Regions from separate parts of the Homo sapiens genome. Here regions 2, 3, 4, 5 and 6 are each linked to region 1. The links are contacts of gene promoters, found by promoter capture Hi-C in blood cells and fetal thymus (Javierre and others, 2016). All regions are on one chromosome and are shown on one strand. The core of a region is centred on a gene start or on the middle of the fragment in contact, and the rest is flanking DNA. Distances in the headings are between cores, read along the strand shown. Region 1 holds the start of KRT86 (keratin 86). Region 2 has its middle 17 kb from the start of EIF4B. Region 3 has its middle 19 kb from the start of KRT18. Region 4 has its middle 3.3 kb from the start of KRT18. Region 5 has its middle 9.7 kb from the start of KRT8. Region 6 has its middle 7.2 kb from the start of MIR9898.

Region 1 (2,652 bases), core at 74-2,573:
CCCCCCACTCCCACCTCTCACCTGACTCTCAGCACTGCCCACCTCCACCGTCAGCCACTGGATGGCCTGATTAAGCCTGTTCAGATCCTCCTTGCTGGGCTTCAGGCTCTGCGTGTGTTTCTGCACAGTTGCCTTTAATTCCTCACACTGTGGAGCAGACGGCAGAGGGGAGCTGTAGTCAGGAGGTGAGGAGGCCAGACAGGGCTGCCCATCCACCTGCTGTCACCAGTGGTCACCTAGCTTCTCTGGGCATCCCTTTCTCCATCTGTGAAATGGGAGTGATCATTTTTCCTATCTCCAAAGGTTGTTGAAAGAACACAGTGAGCTTGCCTTGTGCCCATGGGGCCAGAAGATGCCAAAGGAAGCCTGAACTCAGGCAGGAAGGGCAGCAACACAGGGCAGTGATCTGTTGAGGGGAGCTTTGGGACCAAGATCACATAGGGTTTATCCCAGGAACAGGGAGAGTTAAACTCTAGGAAACTGATTATTGTAGTTTACAACATCTAACCATTTAAATTAGTACAAAAAAAATTAATGAAATTCAATATTTCCTAATTTAAAAAACACATTTTAAAATCTAGGATTAGGAAGAAATGTCCTTAATTTGAATGCCATTAATCAGAAACCAGGGACAGTGATCTAGATTCCAGCTTCTTCCCCAAACCCAAGGCTGCTATGGGAAGTGCTGTCTATGAAATCAGGGGACCACTTCCCTTCTTGCACCTCGCCCCCATGTGCATTCAATACACGAATAGCCAGGGAACAATAACTCACACTTGCACAGTGCCTGATGCTTTTCACAAGCTTTTACTCCACGATCTCACTGGGGCCTCACAACCACCCATGAAGTTGGCCAGATGGATGTGACTTTTCCCATTGTCTTTCCTCAGGCAAACTGGGGCTCATTCCATCCACCACGTGCAAGAGGGGAGTGAGTGACCCTGCCAGCCGACAGTTGAGCCAGACTACATTTTAAGCCCATGCTCTTTGCTCTCCACCAAGGTTATACACACCCCCTCAACCCAGAGAGCAAGAACTGTTCACACCAGCCCATTGCAAACTTTCTTCTAGGGCAGATGGAGTGTGGGGGAACAGACCTCAAAACATCATCTCAATTTCTGCTGTGTTCCCACTGCCCCCAACTTTTCTGCTCCTGTTCCCAAAAGCTGTATGCCCAACAGATCTGGGTGAAGTCCAAGACACCTCATCCCTGTGTGACCAGGGAGCCACGTGTATGAGTCTCACCATGGAGAAAGAACTGTGGTCTCCTCCAAGCCTCTCTTGAGCACCAAAGCCCAGCTTCAGCCCAAGAGCTACCAGAATCCTTGCCACTGAGGACTAGGGCCTCTTCTTCCTGGGGGCTCTGTGACCTCATCTCATTACAATCACAGAGTTCTGCCCAGGAGGCCTCAGGGGCATAGGGTAGAAGAGGGCCATACTCTGACCCCAGGTGGGAAAATGGAAGTTTCTGGGCTGAAGTGGAACTTAAAGGAAAGTGGAGGAGGGGAAGGCTACCTCAGGTGGAGGAAATGTGTGGAGCTGAGGAGCTTAGGCTTATGGATGGGCACTGGGGAGCCACAGAGGGTGTCTGAGCAGGACAGTGGCCTGACATGAGATGTGATTGTCTAGAAGCAGTGCAGAAGATTGACAGGAGGGCAAGAAATTGGGACTGGGGATGCCAGTCCCAAGACTTGGTAGGAAATCTTGGGTAGGGCAATGACTTTAACCTGTAGGAATGAGTAGGGGCTAGAGAGCACAAGCTGTGGTCAGCATTTTCTTTTTGTTTTATAAATTTCTCATATATGCAAAAGAGTATGCAAAACCTACATTTATTGATTTCAATAGCAACAATAATAAAACAAATCCTTGTGTACCCACCAGTACCTTCAAAGCCCCCTGCGGGATTTTTGCTGATCCATCTCCAACCCCATCTGATCCCCAAAGTAACCACTGTCCTGAGTTTTTATATTGGTCATTCCCTTGCTTTTCTTTATTACTATGTCATAACGTGTATCCATAAACTAGTGTTGAGTTTTGCCTACCTTTAAGTTTTATATAAATAGAATTACACCTTGTACATTTCTATGACTTGCTTTTTCCTCCTCAACATACTAGTTTTGAGATTCATCTTTTTGATGCATGTAGTTTTATTTCTCAGTGTTGTATAGTATTCCAAAGTATGACTACATATATATAGATAGATACAGATATAGACACACACATATACATATATCTCTATTTTCCTATAGGTAGCACATGTGTTTTTTGTTTTTGTTGTAACAAACAATGCTGCCATGAACTTTCTTGTACATATCTGCTGGTGGACCTCAACAAGAGGTTCTTTGGGGTACTAGTTGTCAAACTGTTTTTTAACCTCAACTCTAAATAAGAAATATATGTTGTATCATGAATCACTACCTACGTACAAATACACCACATCTACTGAAATAAGTTTCATGGAAAAATCATTTACTTCTACTATGTGTAAGGCAATCTGATCTAACCAATCACCTTAACACATTCTTTTACTTTCAACTTATGTCCTCATGTTTTAAGTTTATTTCTTATAACTAGCATATTACTTTATTATTATAATATAATGAAAATGAAATACTCATGAACCTACTTACTGATCCCAAAACTAAAATCTTA
Region 2 (2,652 bases), core at 63-2,562, 710 kb before region 1:
CCCATCCACCTAGCACATAGTTCCTGGATAAATCTCCCTGAAAGAGCGCTCTTACTGTGTCACCACATCTCTTTCCAAGGCCCTACTCTCCAGCATTGAAAGCTCTGCATGAACTGCCCTCAGCTTGCTTTTCCTACTATATCTGTCACCTCAACTTCTGCCTGGCCCGGAGCGGACGCTGGGCTTTTCCATGTTACTCATCATTCTCTTCATCTGGAATGCCTGCTCCCTCTTAGTCTTGCCAAATCCTTTGCAGGAGAAGCCCCTCCTACTTCAAGACATCTTCCCAAGACATCCTGTTGGCCTGGTCTCCCATTTAGTTGTGTATTTGGCTTATTTTATCCAGGTGGTATTTTATACACAGTTTTTTTCCTCTTCTTCAGGGCCTTGTAACATGTAAACCTCATTTCTGTTTTGGTTTTTTTTTGTTGTTTGTTTTTGTGTGTGTGTGTGTGTGTGTTTTTTTTTTGAGACGGAGTCTCGCTCTGTTGCCCAGGCTGAGGTGAAGTGGTGCGACCTTGGCTCACTGCAACCTCCACCTCCTGGGTTCAAGCAATTCTCCTGCCTCAGCCTCCTGAGTAGCTGAGACTACAGGTGTGTACCACCATGCCTGGCTAATTTTTGTATTTCTAGTAGCAATGGGGTTTCGCCATGTTGGTCAGGCTGGTCACAAACTCCTGACCTCAGGTGATCCACTTACCTCGTCCTCCTAAAGTGCTGGGATTACAGGCATGAGCCACCACGTCCAGCAGTTTTTGTTGTTTTTTAGAGTCAGAGTCTTGCTCTGTTGCCCACACTAGGGTGCAGTGGTGCAATCATGGCTTACTGCAACCTTGAACTCCTGGGCTCAAGCAATCCTCCTGCCTCAGCCTCCTGAGTAGCTGGACTACAGGCATGCACCACCACACCCAGTTAACTTCTAAAATTTTTTGTATAGATGGGTGTCTTGCTATGTTGCCCAGGCTGATCTCAAACTCCTGGCCTCAAGTGATCCTTCTGCCTTGGTCTCTCAGAGTGCTGGGATTACAGGTGTGAGCCACTGCACCCAGCCTAAACCTGTTTTTTTAATGTTCTTCTACTTTTTTTTTTTTTTTTGAGACAGAGTCTTGCTCTGTCACTGGGCTGGAGTGCAGTGGTGTGATCTCAGCTCACTGCAACCTCTGCCTCCCGGGTTCAAGCAATTCTCCTGCCTCAGCCTCCTGAGTAGCTGGAACTACAGGCGTGTGCCACCACGCCCAGCTAATTTTTGTATTCTTAGTGGAGATGGGGTTTCACCATGTTGGCCAGGATGGTCTCGATCTCTTGACTTCGTGATCCGCCTGCCTCGGCCTCCCAGAGTGCTGGGATTACAGGCATGAGCCACCACGCCCGGTCGTTTTGTTTATTTTTCTAATGAAGATTTCTGCTTGGGGAGTTCAGGTGGGGCTTTTTCTTGAGTAAATCCAACCACCTCTACCAAAGACTCTGTAGTTCCCACTTCCTGGGTTGGAGATTGTTAGTCAAAGGAGGAACTGGTGAGGACTTTGGCTAGAAATTTCCCACGTGGTATTTCAAAACCAAACCCAATTCTGGACCCAGACAGGAGAGCAGTTTGGGGTTGCTTATTAGGACAGGCTTGTTTGACACTAGCATACTAAAGTTCTCCTTCTTTTCCTTCTTACTTTCCAGTTCAGACTTTTGAATGATGGGGTATGTTTGAGAAGCAACTAAAAACCCAACCTCTGCCCCTTGGGAGTTTATTACAAATTTATAGTTAGTTGTATTTTCTTGGCAGGTATTGATAAGAAAGTAATTCACCTGATTAATGTTTTTATTGTATATCTGTGGATAAATGAGTAATGAATATATAAATAGTGGAGTATTATCTAATAGACAAATCAAAGGTAAATGTAATAGAGGAAGGAGCTATGGATAAACTCATCACAGAGCTGGGTCAAGTTACACTTTCTCCCACCTTGATCTTGTGTCTGTCTTAGTCAGTTCTGCTGTAACAAATTACTATAGACAGGGTGGCTTAAACAACAAACATTTCTTTTTTGTTTTTGAGACGGAGTCTCACTCTGTCGCCCAGGCTGGAGTGCAGTGGCTGGTGCAATCTCGACTCACTGCAACCTCCACTTCCCAGGTTCAAGCAATTCTCCTGCCTCAGCCCTCCGGAGTAGCTGGGACTACAGGGACCCACCACCACACCTGGCTCATTTTTATATTTTTAGACGGGGTTTCACCAGGTTTGCCAGGCTACTCTCGAACTCCTGACCTCAGGTGATCTCAGGTGATCCACTCACCTCGGCCTCCAAAAGTGCTGGGATTACAGGCGTGAGCCACCGCGCCCGGCCAACAACAAACATCTCTTTCTTTCTTTTTTTTTTTCTGAGACACAGTTTCGCTCTTGTCACCCAGGCTGGAGTGCAATGGCATGATCTCAGCTCACTGCAACCTCCGCTTCCTGGGTTCAAGTAATTCTCCTGCCTCAGTCTCCCAAGTAGCTGGGATTACAGGCATGTACCACCATGCTTAGCTAATTTTTGTATTTTTGTATTTTTTTTTGATGGAGTCTCGCTCTGTTGCCCAGGCCGGAGTGCAGTGGCACGATCTTGGCTCACTGCAACCTCCGCCTCCTGGGTTCAAGCGATTCTCCTGCCTCAGCCTCCC
Region 3 (2,652 bases), core at 43-2,542, 690 kb before region 1:
TTTCTTTAAAAAGAAAAAAAAATGGAGCAGATTAAGATGAGATTTTATTTTTCTTTTTTTCCTTAAAAAGAAAAAAAGGCTAGGCGAGGTGGCTCATGTCTGTAATCCAAAGGCTAGGTGAGGTGGCTCATGTCTGTAATCCCAGAACTTTGGGAGGCCGAGGTAGGTGGATCATTTGAGGTCAGGCGTTTGAGACCAGCTTGGCCAACGTGGTGAAATCCTTGTCTCTACTAAAAATACGAAAATTAGCTGGGCGTGGTGGTGCACACCTGTAATCCCAGCTACTGGAGAGGCTGAGGCGGGAGAATCGCTTGAATCTGGGAGGTGGAGGTTGCAGTGAGCTGAGAAGCCGAGACCACGCCACTACACTCCAGCCTGGGTGACAGAGTAAGACTCCGTCTCAAAAAAAAAAAAAAAAACAAATTCTTCCTGGGCTTTCTTAAAGCTGGGGTGTGTGTGAAGCGAAGCTGAGGAAGTTCAATTGTTCTCCCACTAAGTTCTCTTTCCTGGAACAAAGAGGACCTGCAAAGAGAGTGAGAGGACTGCTGGCATCTTGAAATATTCTTCTACTCTCCTTTGTCCTCTTTTCCTTGGGTGAGGCATGCAGAGACTCCTCTTGGTTTGTTATTTGCTCATTTATTTGTTCATTCATTTGCTTATTCATTCAAAAGCTAGTAAGAGAAGATTGTTAAATTTGAAAATTTTGCTTCCCAGAATTAAACCATTTTAAATCAACCATGACAGCAGTATTTATACCTTGGATATTGGCAAATGCTATAGGTTATTAAATAAAATAAAATAACATTTTATTTACAATTTAATAAAAATTACAATTTCAAATTTTTGTCTTTAAAAAAGAAAATAACAACCTGCTGTTTATGTGTTGGAATTGTGTTATGTATCAGGGCATAAGAGTGAACAAGATAGTCCAGTCTCTGCTCAAAGGGAGCTTACAGTCTGGTGCTGCACTGTCCTGTCCAATCTGGTAGCCATTAGCTACTAGCTACTGCTGTGGTTATTAATTTATTTTTTAAAGTTTTTAATTTTGGCTGAGTCTGGTGGCTCATGCCTGTAATCCCAGCGCTTTGGGAGGCCGAGGCAGGTGGATCACCTGAGGTTAGGAGTTCGAGACCAGTCTGGCCAACATGGCGAAACCCCGTCTCTACTCCAAATCCAAAAAAAAAAAAAAAAAAAAAAAATTAGCCAGGTGTGGTGGTGGGCGCCTGTAATCCCAACTACTCGGAAGACTGAGGCAGGAGAATCACTTGAACCTGGGAGGCGGAGGTTGCAGTGAGCCGAGATTGAGCCAGTGCACTCCAGCCTGGGCAACAAGAGTGAAACTCTGTCTCAAAAAAAAAAAAGTTTTTAATTTTTGTGGGTACCCAGTATGTGTATCTATTTTAGGGTACACGAGATATTTTGATACAGGCATACAATGCATAATAATCTCATCAGGGCATCCATCACTTCAAGCATTTATCCTTTATGTTACAAACAATCCAATTATACTCTTTTAGTTATTTTTAAATGTACAATAATTTATTTTTTTTGAGACGGAGTCTTGCTCCATTGCCCAGGCTGGAGTGCAATGGCATGATCTTGGCTCACTGCAACCTCTGCCTCTCGGGTTCAAGCAATTCCCCTGCCTCAGCCTCCCGAGTAGCTGGGATTACAGGCATGCACCACCATGCCTGGCTAATTTTTGTATTTTTAGTAGAGACGGGGTTTTACCATGTTGGTCAGGCACGTCTTGAACTCCTGTCCTTGTGATCTGCCCGCCTCAGCCTTCCAAAGTGCTGGGATTACAGGCATGAGCCACTGCACCCAGCCTTAGGCTGGTGCTTTTTAAACTTTTTTTGCTTCTGGGGAGTGGGTGATAGGGAAAGTTCTGCCAGCCTGGGAGGGGCCCACTAGAGCCTGCTGCTCCAGTGTGGATTGTGGGGAGAGGAAAAGGAACTGTGTGCTTTGGGCCCAGATCACTGGAGTGCCCTGAGTCTCTGAGAAGTTTACCCTACATCCCTCCTGTGGCAGCACCATCCACTTCACCAGGATCTGACCAGGGCCTTCAGGGGGACACAGCCTCCCCGGATCTGAGCATCACTATCATTCTAATTCCTTGGGCTGTTTCTGTGTAGATAATTATTTTCCAGCTCATTCAGGCAGGTGAGGTTGAGGCCAGCAGTGCAGCTAAATCCTTACACCGTGACTGGGGCTGCTTTTATACAGGTTAGGGGAAGAATAATCACTTATGGCTGAAATCTAATGGAAGAGGGAGTTCTGTGTAACTCTAGTGGGCAGAGCTGAGTTTAGAAGGTTAGTAGGAGGCAGATTTCAGCCCAGTAGAAGGAACAATAATGTTCCAGTAATTATACAATTATTATCCAACAGGGGCTATACTGTCATAAATTCTTCAAACGGAGGCCAGATGTTAGGAAGGCCACAAAGAGGATTCCTACTGGGAGAGGCCAAACTTGAACCATCTGTTTATTTATTTTATTTTATTTATTTATTTTTTTGAGAATGGAGTTTCACTCTTGTCACCCAGGCTGGAGTGCAATGGCACAAACTTGGCTCACTGCAACCTCCGCCTCCCGGGTTCAGGTGATTCTTTTGCCTCAGCCTCCCAAGTAGCTAGGATTACAGGCATGCACC
Region 4 (2,652 bases), core at 111-2,610, 670 kb before region 1:
CAGCTCGTTTTTCTGGCAGGGCCTGGTATGACACATTTGGCTGTGTTCTTTGCTCTGGAGTGGACCTATTGATTCTTATCGAGCTACCAGCTGAGGGGGAAGGGGAGGACAAATAGTAGGGCAGACCTGGGAGAGAAGGGACCCTGGAAAAGCCTGGCCAGTGGACCTGCCAGGTGGGAGGCAGAGCACAGATAAAGAGCCTGAGCCTGGATTGTTCCTGATCTGTCACCTAATGGTGGGGAGAGCCCCACAGTGCTCAATGGGAGCCAGCCAGGGGGCAGTCAGGGTGGAAGCTGGCCAGGGGAGGGTCGGGGCCTGCTGAAGGCTGGGAGGCAAACGGGATGCAAAATAACATACAAATGAATGCCCACTGGTTTTGCATACAAGGCTTCTGGGAGGTAAGAGGTTCCAGTCAGAGGGGTCTCTCCTGCTTTCACCTTTATATTCCCCCACTGGATTCCAGAACTGTCAAGTTGGGCAGTATTTTATAATAAAGTATGTGGAGTCAACAAGCTACGTACTGCCTTTTACTGTTATTGCTAAGCTTTAAGTCAGCCAGCCTGGATACTTTGCTAGCTGTGTAACCTTGGGGAAGTCACCTAACTCTGAACTTCAATTTCTTCACTTGTACAGGGAAAACAGTAAGACCTGTCCAGTCTATTTCCTCAGGTGGCAGTGAATGTGAGTGTAAATTGTCACTCACTCATTCATCAAACAAATACTAATTATTTGTACTGGAGCCTTCCTTCAAAGTAAGGAAGGCTTCAATATATACAGGAGGGCAGATAAAGGGGGTCAATTTAATTCGAAAGACGGGCTCAAGGGGTTTGAAGTCTGTCTCTCTGAGTCATTTAAAAACCCTGGGGCACTTTGAAATCTACCAGCAATCAAAACAGATTCTAGAATTTTTCTCCAAGCTAATTCCCAGGTCCTTGTCTGATTCCTGCCCCACCCCAACTGCTAGGAAACTTCTGGGACCTGTGGAGGTGCAGCGTGGGGGCTGGAGAGGGAGAGCTGCCAGCTAGACTTTATCTCTCCTACTGATGTCGATGGCCACATTCCTGACTTCTTGCAGCATGGGGCAAATACCGACCTCGGGCTTCCAGCACCAGCCTGCCCCTTTCCACCACTTCCAGATTCCTCTGTGGCTCAGGGCTTTTTCACTTTGTCAGAGAGCCTCTTGGAGAGCTGGGGTGAAGGTCTCGGCCTCCAGATTCCCAGCACTAGGGTTCTGGGGTGGGGGTGGGAAGCAAGGTGGAAAGGGGGATGGCGTGATTGTGAGGACAGTCCCGGGAAAGGGTGGAGCAGGAGGGGCCCTGGTGAGAAGCTCCCAGAACAGACACAAAGAGTAATGAGCCTCGGCAGGGGGGAATCCGGAAAGAGGGGAAATGGTTCTCCACCCACCATCAGTCCTGCATTCCAGCGTCCAGCAGAAGGGGAGTGGGAACCTGTGAGGCAGGTTTAACTTCAGAGTAGACTCAGAGATGACCCGATAGGGGTGGGTCAGCTCTTACTGCCCACTCCACATTCTCCCACAAAGGGCTTGAGCTGATGGCTCTGGGGAAACTAGGTGGTGGAGAGATGAGAGGATTAGGGAGGATTGGAAGGCCTGCAGTCCTTCCGCCTTTGCTTTAACATTTAGGCTGGAAATTCCTTGCTCAGCCTGGAGGAGGGAGGTGTTCGGAACAGCAACTGAGGTGTAAGGATGGGGTCTATACACAAAACAGGGAGAGACTGATTCCCATCCTCTTCTTTAAAGACTGAGGGTGACTCCAGTGTGTTGGAGACAGTGAGAAGGCCCTGTGGTGGGGTGGGCTGGAGGGAGGAAGGGATCGCCTGGGAGGCTCCCCTGGGCTCCTTTCAGCTACTCTCAGTGGAGGGTATACCCATGCAGGGGGCCCTCCCACAGGAGAAATCCCAGGGCTGCTGAGTTAAGGGTAGAGCTGTTGAGACAGAGGGAGATCTGGGGTAGAACCCAAAGGAAAAGGAATCTGGGGTGGAATGGGAATCCTCCTGCCCAGCCCTGCATCTGGCACATAGGTGGAGCTCCGTAAATACTTTAGGTTTAAGTAATTAATAAACATGGGGTGCTAGGAGAGGTCAGTGGGGGTCATCAGAAAGTGCAGTCAGGTAGACTGCAGAGAGACAAGAGGTGGGGGCAAGGGTACAAGCTTCAGAGGCAGCTGCGGAGCAGGGGGAGGATGCGGGTGGCAGCTGGGTGCAGGACCCAGTCTGATATCAAGACTTCTGGAATTTCAGCACCCTATTTGGAGTCCCTGGCACTGCCTGTGGAGGTGGGAACGGGTTCTCAGGGCTTGGGCCAGGCCCTCTTCCCCAGGGGTGGGAGAGTCGAGGAATGCCCTGACACTTAGTATCATTGCTTCGGTTGGGTTTGTGCCCTAGGGGTTATTTTCCAAGGATAAAGGAAGAGGAAGGGTCAGCGCTGAGAAGCGTGTGGCTGCCCAGAAACCTCCAGGCGCTGAAGCTCAGAGAAGTCGGGGAACCTGGCCCTTCTAGGAGCCCCTCAGCTCCCTGGCCCAGCCCCACCAGGAATGGCCTTGCCTGTGCTTATGTCCTTTGCCCATTCTGACCCTGGTGCTGTTGGCTTCTCCTCAGGTGCAACCCCAGTATCCCAATGCCATATCCCCCAGC
Region 5 (2,652 bases), core at 153-2,652, 640 kb before region 1:
TAGCTTTTCTACTCTTCCATAGGAATCCCGCTCCTGTCCAGTGGCTTATCACATTTCCAGATCTTTCCATCCATATCTTACTTTCCTAAGCTCAGCTTGATCTAAGGGCTCTCTCCTTCCCCTGAAGTCCTATAGCATACATCTGAATCATTTATTTATCTGAAATCAATATTCCGTTGATAAGGTACAGAAGGTAGACTTTGGCCAGGTAGTATTTGTATTTATAGAAGGGCTCGGTGTGTACACGGATATCTTTATACCTGGCTTCTCTGGTTCCACGTCTTTATTGGTGTACATTTTGGTTAGCATATGTAGTGAACATCTGTTGTTTCTGCCTGTCCAGCATTTGTTTATCTTTTCTTTTCTCTTCTTTTTTTTTTGAGACGGAGTCTTGCTCTGTTACCCAGGCTGGGCTGGAGTTCAGTGGTGGGATCTTGGCTCACTGCAGCCTCTGCCTCCTGGGTTCAAGCGATTCTCCTGTCTCAGCCTCCCAAGTAGCTGGGACTACAGGCATGCACCACCATGCTCGGCTGATTTTTTTGTATTTTTAGTACAGATGGGGTTTCACCATGTTGACCAGGCTGGTCTCGACCTCCTGACCTCAGGTGATCCACCCGCCTCAGCCTCCTGAAGTGCTAGGATTACAGGCGTGAGGCATGGTTCCTGGCCCTGTCCAGCATTTCTTCCTGGTCTTTTGGTGAATCACATTTTTTTTTTTTTTGAGATGGAGTCTTGCTCTGTTGCCCAAGCTGGAGTGCAGTGGCGAGATCTCGGCTCACTGCAGGCTCCGTCCCCTGGGGTTCACGCCATTCTCCTGCCTCAGCCTCCTGAGTAGCTGGGACTACAGGTGCCCGCCACCTCGCCCGGCTAATTTTTTGTATCTTTAGTAGAGACGGGGTTTCACTGTGTTAGCCAGGATGGTCTCGATCTCCTGACCTCATGATCCGCCCACCTCTGCCTCCCAAAGAGCTGGGATTACAGGCGTGAGCCACCGCGCCTGGCCCAAATCACATTTTTTTTCCCCTTTCTCTATAGGTTGGGTGGGGCTGATCACCCCTCCACAGGGTCTTGTTATGTGGTCTAGTCTAGTCAACATGATAGTATTCTATTCCCCTGGCCACAGGGATTGGTTCAGAGATGAGCATGTGACCTATATCAGCCTTGGAGAGTCAGCCCTGGAACTTCAGCAGGAAGCATCGGGAAAGAGGTGCTCCCTTAGTGGTCGCCCTTCCTGCAGCAGGGAGATGGCCTGCCCGAGGACGAAGCTAACATGGAGGAAAATAGCCAAAAGACAGGAAGAGAGTCTTGGTCCTGATGATATCACTGAGCCCCTTATCTGGCTAGGCTGAAAGCCAAATGCACCCTTGAACTTCTCAATTATAAGAAATGATCTTTTTATGCTTAAGTCTGTTTGAGTTGGGTTTCAGCCACTTGCAATCAAGAATGTGTATCCTTTGGCTGGGAGCTGGGGCTCACACCTGTAACTTTGGGAGTCACAGCACTTTGGGAGGCCAAGGTGGGAGGATTGCTTGAGGCAAGGATTTTTTGTTTGTTTTTGAGACGGAGTTTCACTGTTGTTGCCCAGGCTGGAGTGCAATGGTATGATCACAGCTCGCTGCAACCTCCACCTCCTGGCTTCGAGCAATTCTCCTGCCTCAGCCTCCTGAGTAGCTGGGGTTACAGGCATGCGCCACCATACTATGCTAATTTTTTGGTATTTTTAGTAAGGACAGTTTCTCCATGTTGGTCAGGCTGGTCTCGAACTCCCAACCTCAGGTGATCCGCCTGCCTCGGCCTCCCAAAGTGCTGGGATTACAGGCGTGAGCCACTGCACCCGGTGGATTTTTTTTTTGTTTTGTTTGTTTTATTTTTGAGACAGAGTCTCGCTCTGTCGCCCAGGCTGGAGTGCAATAGGGCAGTCTTGGCTCACTGCAATCTTTGCCTCCTGGGTTCAAGCGATTCTCCTGCCTCAGCCTCCCGAGTAGCTGGGATTACAGGTGCCTGCCACCATGCCCAGCTAATTTTTATATTATTAGTAGAGACGGGATTTCACCATGTTGGTCAGGCTGGTCTTGATCTCCTGACTTCAGGTAATCAGCTGGCCTTGGCCTCCTAAAGTGCTAGTATTAGAGAGGCATGAGCCACCTCTCTCAGCCTGAGGCCAGGATTTTGAGACCAGCCTGGGCAATATAGTGAAACCTCTGTCTGTATAAAAGAAAAAACAAACAAACCTGTAACCGTGTATTTGAGTTTGGATGTGTGTTATATATGGCTGTGTGTGCACAGGTATGTGTGTGACGTTCGTAGGAAGGTGGTGTGCACGGGACTCTGACGGGTGGTACACGCACATGCTTGTGCCTGAGATGAGGATGTGAGGTGGTACTGCACCTTGGCGTGTGCGTCAGGCCATGCAAGTGAGAGGGCAGGTGGGGTGTGTGTGAACCTGAGAGAGTGTGTGAGGGACAAGAGGGCGTGTGTGCTATAGGCTGAGGTTGTGTGCCCACAGGGTGGGGGGTGGGCCTGTGAGGCTGTTTGTTCTGGGAGATAACCCATCAAACATGTGTGCTTTGTATTTATATGGATACATGCATATAAAGACACGTGCTCAAAAACACCTGCTTATCATCATGCACCTCTGCCCTCCTGAAAATT
Region 6 (2,652 bases), core at 110-2,609, 620 kb before region 1:
ACCAGTCCTCTATTGGTATTTGCTATGACAATGGTGAGGATATCTTAATAATTCCTACAAGTGGAATTGCTGAAGCAAAATGTGTGCACATTTAAATTTTAGTAGACTTTTTGTTTTTAAAGCTTGATTTCCTATGGGACTGAATTTTAGTTTTTTAGAAAATTTACATGTGTAGAAGAAGGTTCCTGTTTGACTATTCCAGATGAGCCAGCCATTATCCCCCACTTCCCTCCACCCTGCCTTTCCCGACCCAACCACCCAGGATTAAAATGATGAGTCTTCCAAGCATTTGTGGACTCTTCTGAAGATATTTTAATTCCAAGGTTTTGCTCTGCCTGCCCGCTGATCTGGGCTAAGGTGGTCTAGGAGCTCCCCTGTAGTAGGGGGATCTGAAGGTGGGCTAAGGACCGAGGGCCAGGCTGACTGGAGTGTAAGGTGGTGGGAATGGAGGAGTGAATGTTAAAGCAAGGCATGTGACAATGCGGACAGTACATACCCTTCATGAAGGATAGATAGAAATGTGTGCATGCATGTCCCTACGTAATTATATATCATAGATTCTACCTGTTGGGAAAGGAAGAGGAAGCACCACTGCAAGGAAAGGAAGGCAGGGAAGGATACCAGCATGGTGGGTGGCCCCCTAGTTCACTCTCCGCGCTGCCCTTTTACACATTGTGGTGGGCATAGTTGCTTTGTCTAGCCAGGACCCCTTCCCCCTTCTTCTAGTAATGCAAAGCTCCCCCACCTCCACTCCTGCCACGCCCCACTTCTTTTCAGGAACTGTTCCTCCTAAGATCACAGGACCTCTGTCCAGGCACACAGGGTTCACAATGGGCCAGCCTTGGCCAATCACAAGTCCCTTTGTTTCCTCCTTGCTGAGGCATATTGTACATACAATAAAATGCAAAATGTGCTTTAATGGGGAATGTACAACCTGATGAGTTTTTTTATTTTTATTTTTATTTATTTTTTTTGAGATGGAGTTTCACTCTTGTTGCCCAGGCTGAAGTGCAATGGCACGATCTCGGCTCACTGCAACCTCCGCTGCCCAGGTTCAAGCGATTCTCCCGCCTCAGCCTCCTGAGTAGCTGGGACTACAGGCATGCGCCACCACGCCGGGCTAATTTTGTATTTTTAGTAGAGACGGGGTTTCTCCGTGTTGGTCAGGCAACTCCCGACCTCAGGTGATCCACCCGCCTCAGCCTCCCAAAGTGCTGGGATTACAGGCGTGAGCCACCGTGCCCGGCGCCTGATGAGTTTTAACTTATGTTCACACCTGTAATGTAGAACATTTCCTATATCACAGAAGGTTCACTTGGGCCCCTTGCCAGAGTGCACTTTTTTTTAGTAGACTTATTTTTTAAGAACAGTTTTAGCTAGGCGCTGTGGCTCATGCCTGTAATCCCAGCACTTTGGGAGGCTGAGGCGGGTGGATCACGAGGTCAGGAGATCGAGACCATCCTGGCTAACATGGTGAAACCCCGTCTCTACTAAAAAATACAAAAAAATTATCTGGGTGTGGTGGCAGGCGCCTGTAGTCCCAGCTACTCGAGAGGCTGAGGCAGGAGAATGGTGTGAACCCAGGAGGCAGAGCTTGCAGTGAACTGAGATCATGCCACTGCACTCCAGCCTGGGCGACAGAGAAAGACTCCGTCTCAAAAAAAAAAAAAAAAAAAAAAAAGAAAAAAAGAGCAATTTTAGGTTCATAGCAAAATCGAGCAGGAGGTAGAGGGTTCTCATACACATTCTGCCCCTACACCTGCATCCCACACCAGAGGGCTACATTTGTTACAACATCATCAACATCCCACCTCAGAGGGATACATTTGTTACGATTGATGAACCTACATTGACACATCATTATTACCCACAGTCCATAGTTCACATTAGAGTTAACTCTTAGTGTGGACATTCTGTGGGGGCCATGTAGCCACCATTACAGTACCATACAGAATAGTTCACTGCCCCCAAAATCAGAGTGCATTCTCAAAAATATGAATCAGATTCAGTTACTTCCTTATATGGAAAACCCTTTATTTTTATTTTATTTTTTTCTTTTCTTTCTTTATTTTTTATTATACTTTAAGTTCTAGGGTACATGTGCACAACATGCAGGTTTGTTACATATGTATACATGTGCCATGTTGGTGTGCTGCACCCGTTAACTCGTTAACTCTTCATTTACATTAGGTATATCTCCTAATGCTATCCCTCCCCTCTACCCCCACCCCACGACAGGCCCTGGTGTGTGATGTTCCCCACCCTGTGTCTAAGTGTTCTCATTGTTCAATTCCCACCTATGAGTGAGAACATGCGGTGTTTGGTTTTCTGCCCTTGCAATAGTTTGCTCAGAATGATGGGAAAACCCTTTACTTTTGACACCCAGAATAAAGCCCTAAATCTTGACTTGGCCCACAGGCTGTGCCTACTCTTCCTCCTCTGAGGCCTCATCCTGGCCACTCTGTCCCTTGCTCTCTGATGCAGTGGTGCAGGCTTTTCAGGGCATAGCCTACATGGAATTTGCTTCTGCTCAGGGCATTGCATGGCTGGCCCCCTGCTTGGAACACCCTGCCTTTCCTAGTCACTCCCAAGCTTTCCGCTCAAACGCAGCTTCCCCAAGAAAGTCTTCTGACACCACAAGACAAGACAAAA

The links. Contacts are between HindIII fragments. The CHiCAGO score rates a contact against its expected background, and 5 or more counts as called.
Region 2: a contact is called between a fragment that was not itself captured here and the fragment with the promoter of KRT86 in region 1, in 1 of 17 cell types (M2 macrophages). The highest score is 5.2, in M2 macrophages.
Region 3: a contact is called between a fragment that was not itself captured here and the fragment with the promoter of KRT86 in region 1, in 4 of 17 cell types (M2 macrophages, erythroblasts, naive CD8 T cells and 1 more). The highest score is 6.3, in M2 macrophages.
Region 4: a fragment that was not itself captured here is called in contact with the fragment with the promoter of KRT86 in region 1 in 1 of 17 cell types (M2 macrophages); the score reaches 5.9 in M2 macrophages.
Region 5: a contact is called between a fragment that was not itself captured here and the fragment with the promoter of KRT86 in region 1, in 3 of 17 cell types (naive CD8 T cells, endothelial precursors and M2 macrophages). The highest score is 5.9, in naive CD8 T cells.
Region 6: a fragment that was not itself captured here is called in contact with the fragment with the promoter of KRT86 in region 1 in 4 of 17 cell types (erythroblasts, activated CD4 T cells, M2 macrophages and 1 more); the score reaches 6.0 in erythroblasts.

Annotation. Positions count from the first base shown.
Region 1 is chr12:52,273,316-52,275,967 of GRCh38, reverse strand. KRT86 (keratin 86) reads right to left here and starts at 1,323. Exons shown (of 11, transcript NM_001320198.2): 1 at 1,246-1,323; 2 at 22-147. It overlaps KRT86-AS2 (KRT86 antisense RNA 2), which reads left to right. Exons shown (of 2, transcript NR_199073.1): 2 at 891-2,652. The HindIII fragment of the contact is 3,258 bases long and covers 807-2,652 here.
Region 2 is chr12:52,987,957-52,990,608 of GRCh38, reverse strand. No RefSeq gene overlaps it. Among named protein-coding and RNA genes, the nearest start is that of EIF4B, 17 kb to the left of the region's middle. The HindIII fragment of the contact is 7,088 bases long and covers 1-2,652 here.
Region 3 is chr12:52,967,202-52,969,853 of GRCh38, reverse strand. No RefSeq gene overlaps it. Among named protein-coding and RNA genes, the nearest start is that of KRT18, 19 kb to the right of the region's middle. The HindIII fragment of the contact is 7,174 bases long and covers 1-2,652 here.
Region 4 is chr12:52,944,474-52,947,125 of GRCh38, reverse strand. It overlaps a transcript of KRT8 not described here. Among named protein-coding and RNA genes, the nearest start is that of KRT18, 3.3 kb to the left of the region's middle. RefSeq lists a silencer at 1-41 and an enhancer at 992-1,587. The HindIII fragment of the contact is 1,627 bases long and covers 547-2,173 here.
Region 5 is chr12:52,913,443-52,916,094 of GRCh38, reverse strand. It overlaps a transcript of KRT8 not described here. Among named protein-coding and RNA genes, the nearest start is that of KRT8, 9.7 kb to the right of the region's middle. The HindIII fragment of the contact is 8,808 bases long and covers 1-2,652 here.
Region 6 is chr12:52,890,471-52,893,122 of GRCh38, reverse strand. No RefSeq gene overlaps it. Among named protein-coding and RNA genes, the nearest start is that of MIR9898, 7.2 kb to the left of the region's middle. The HindIII fragment of the contact is 2,470 bases long and covers 125-2,594 here.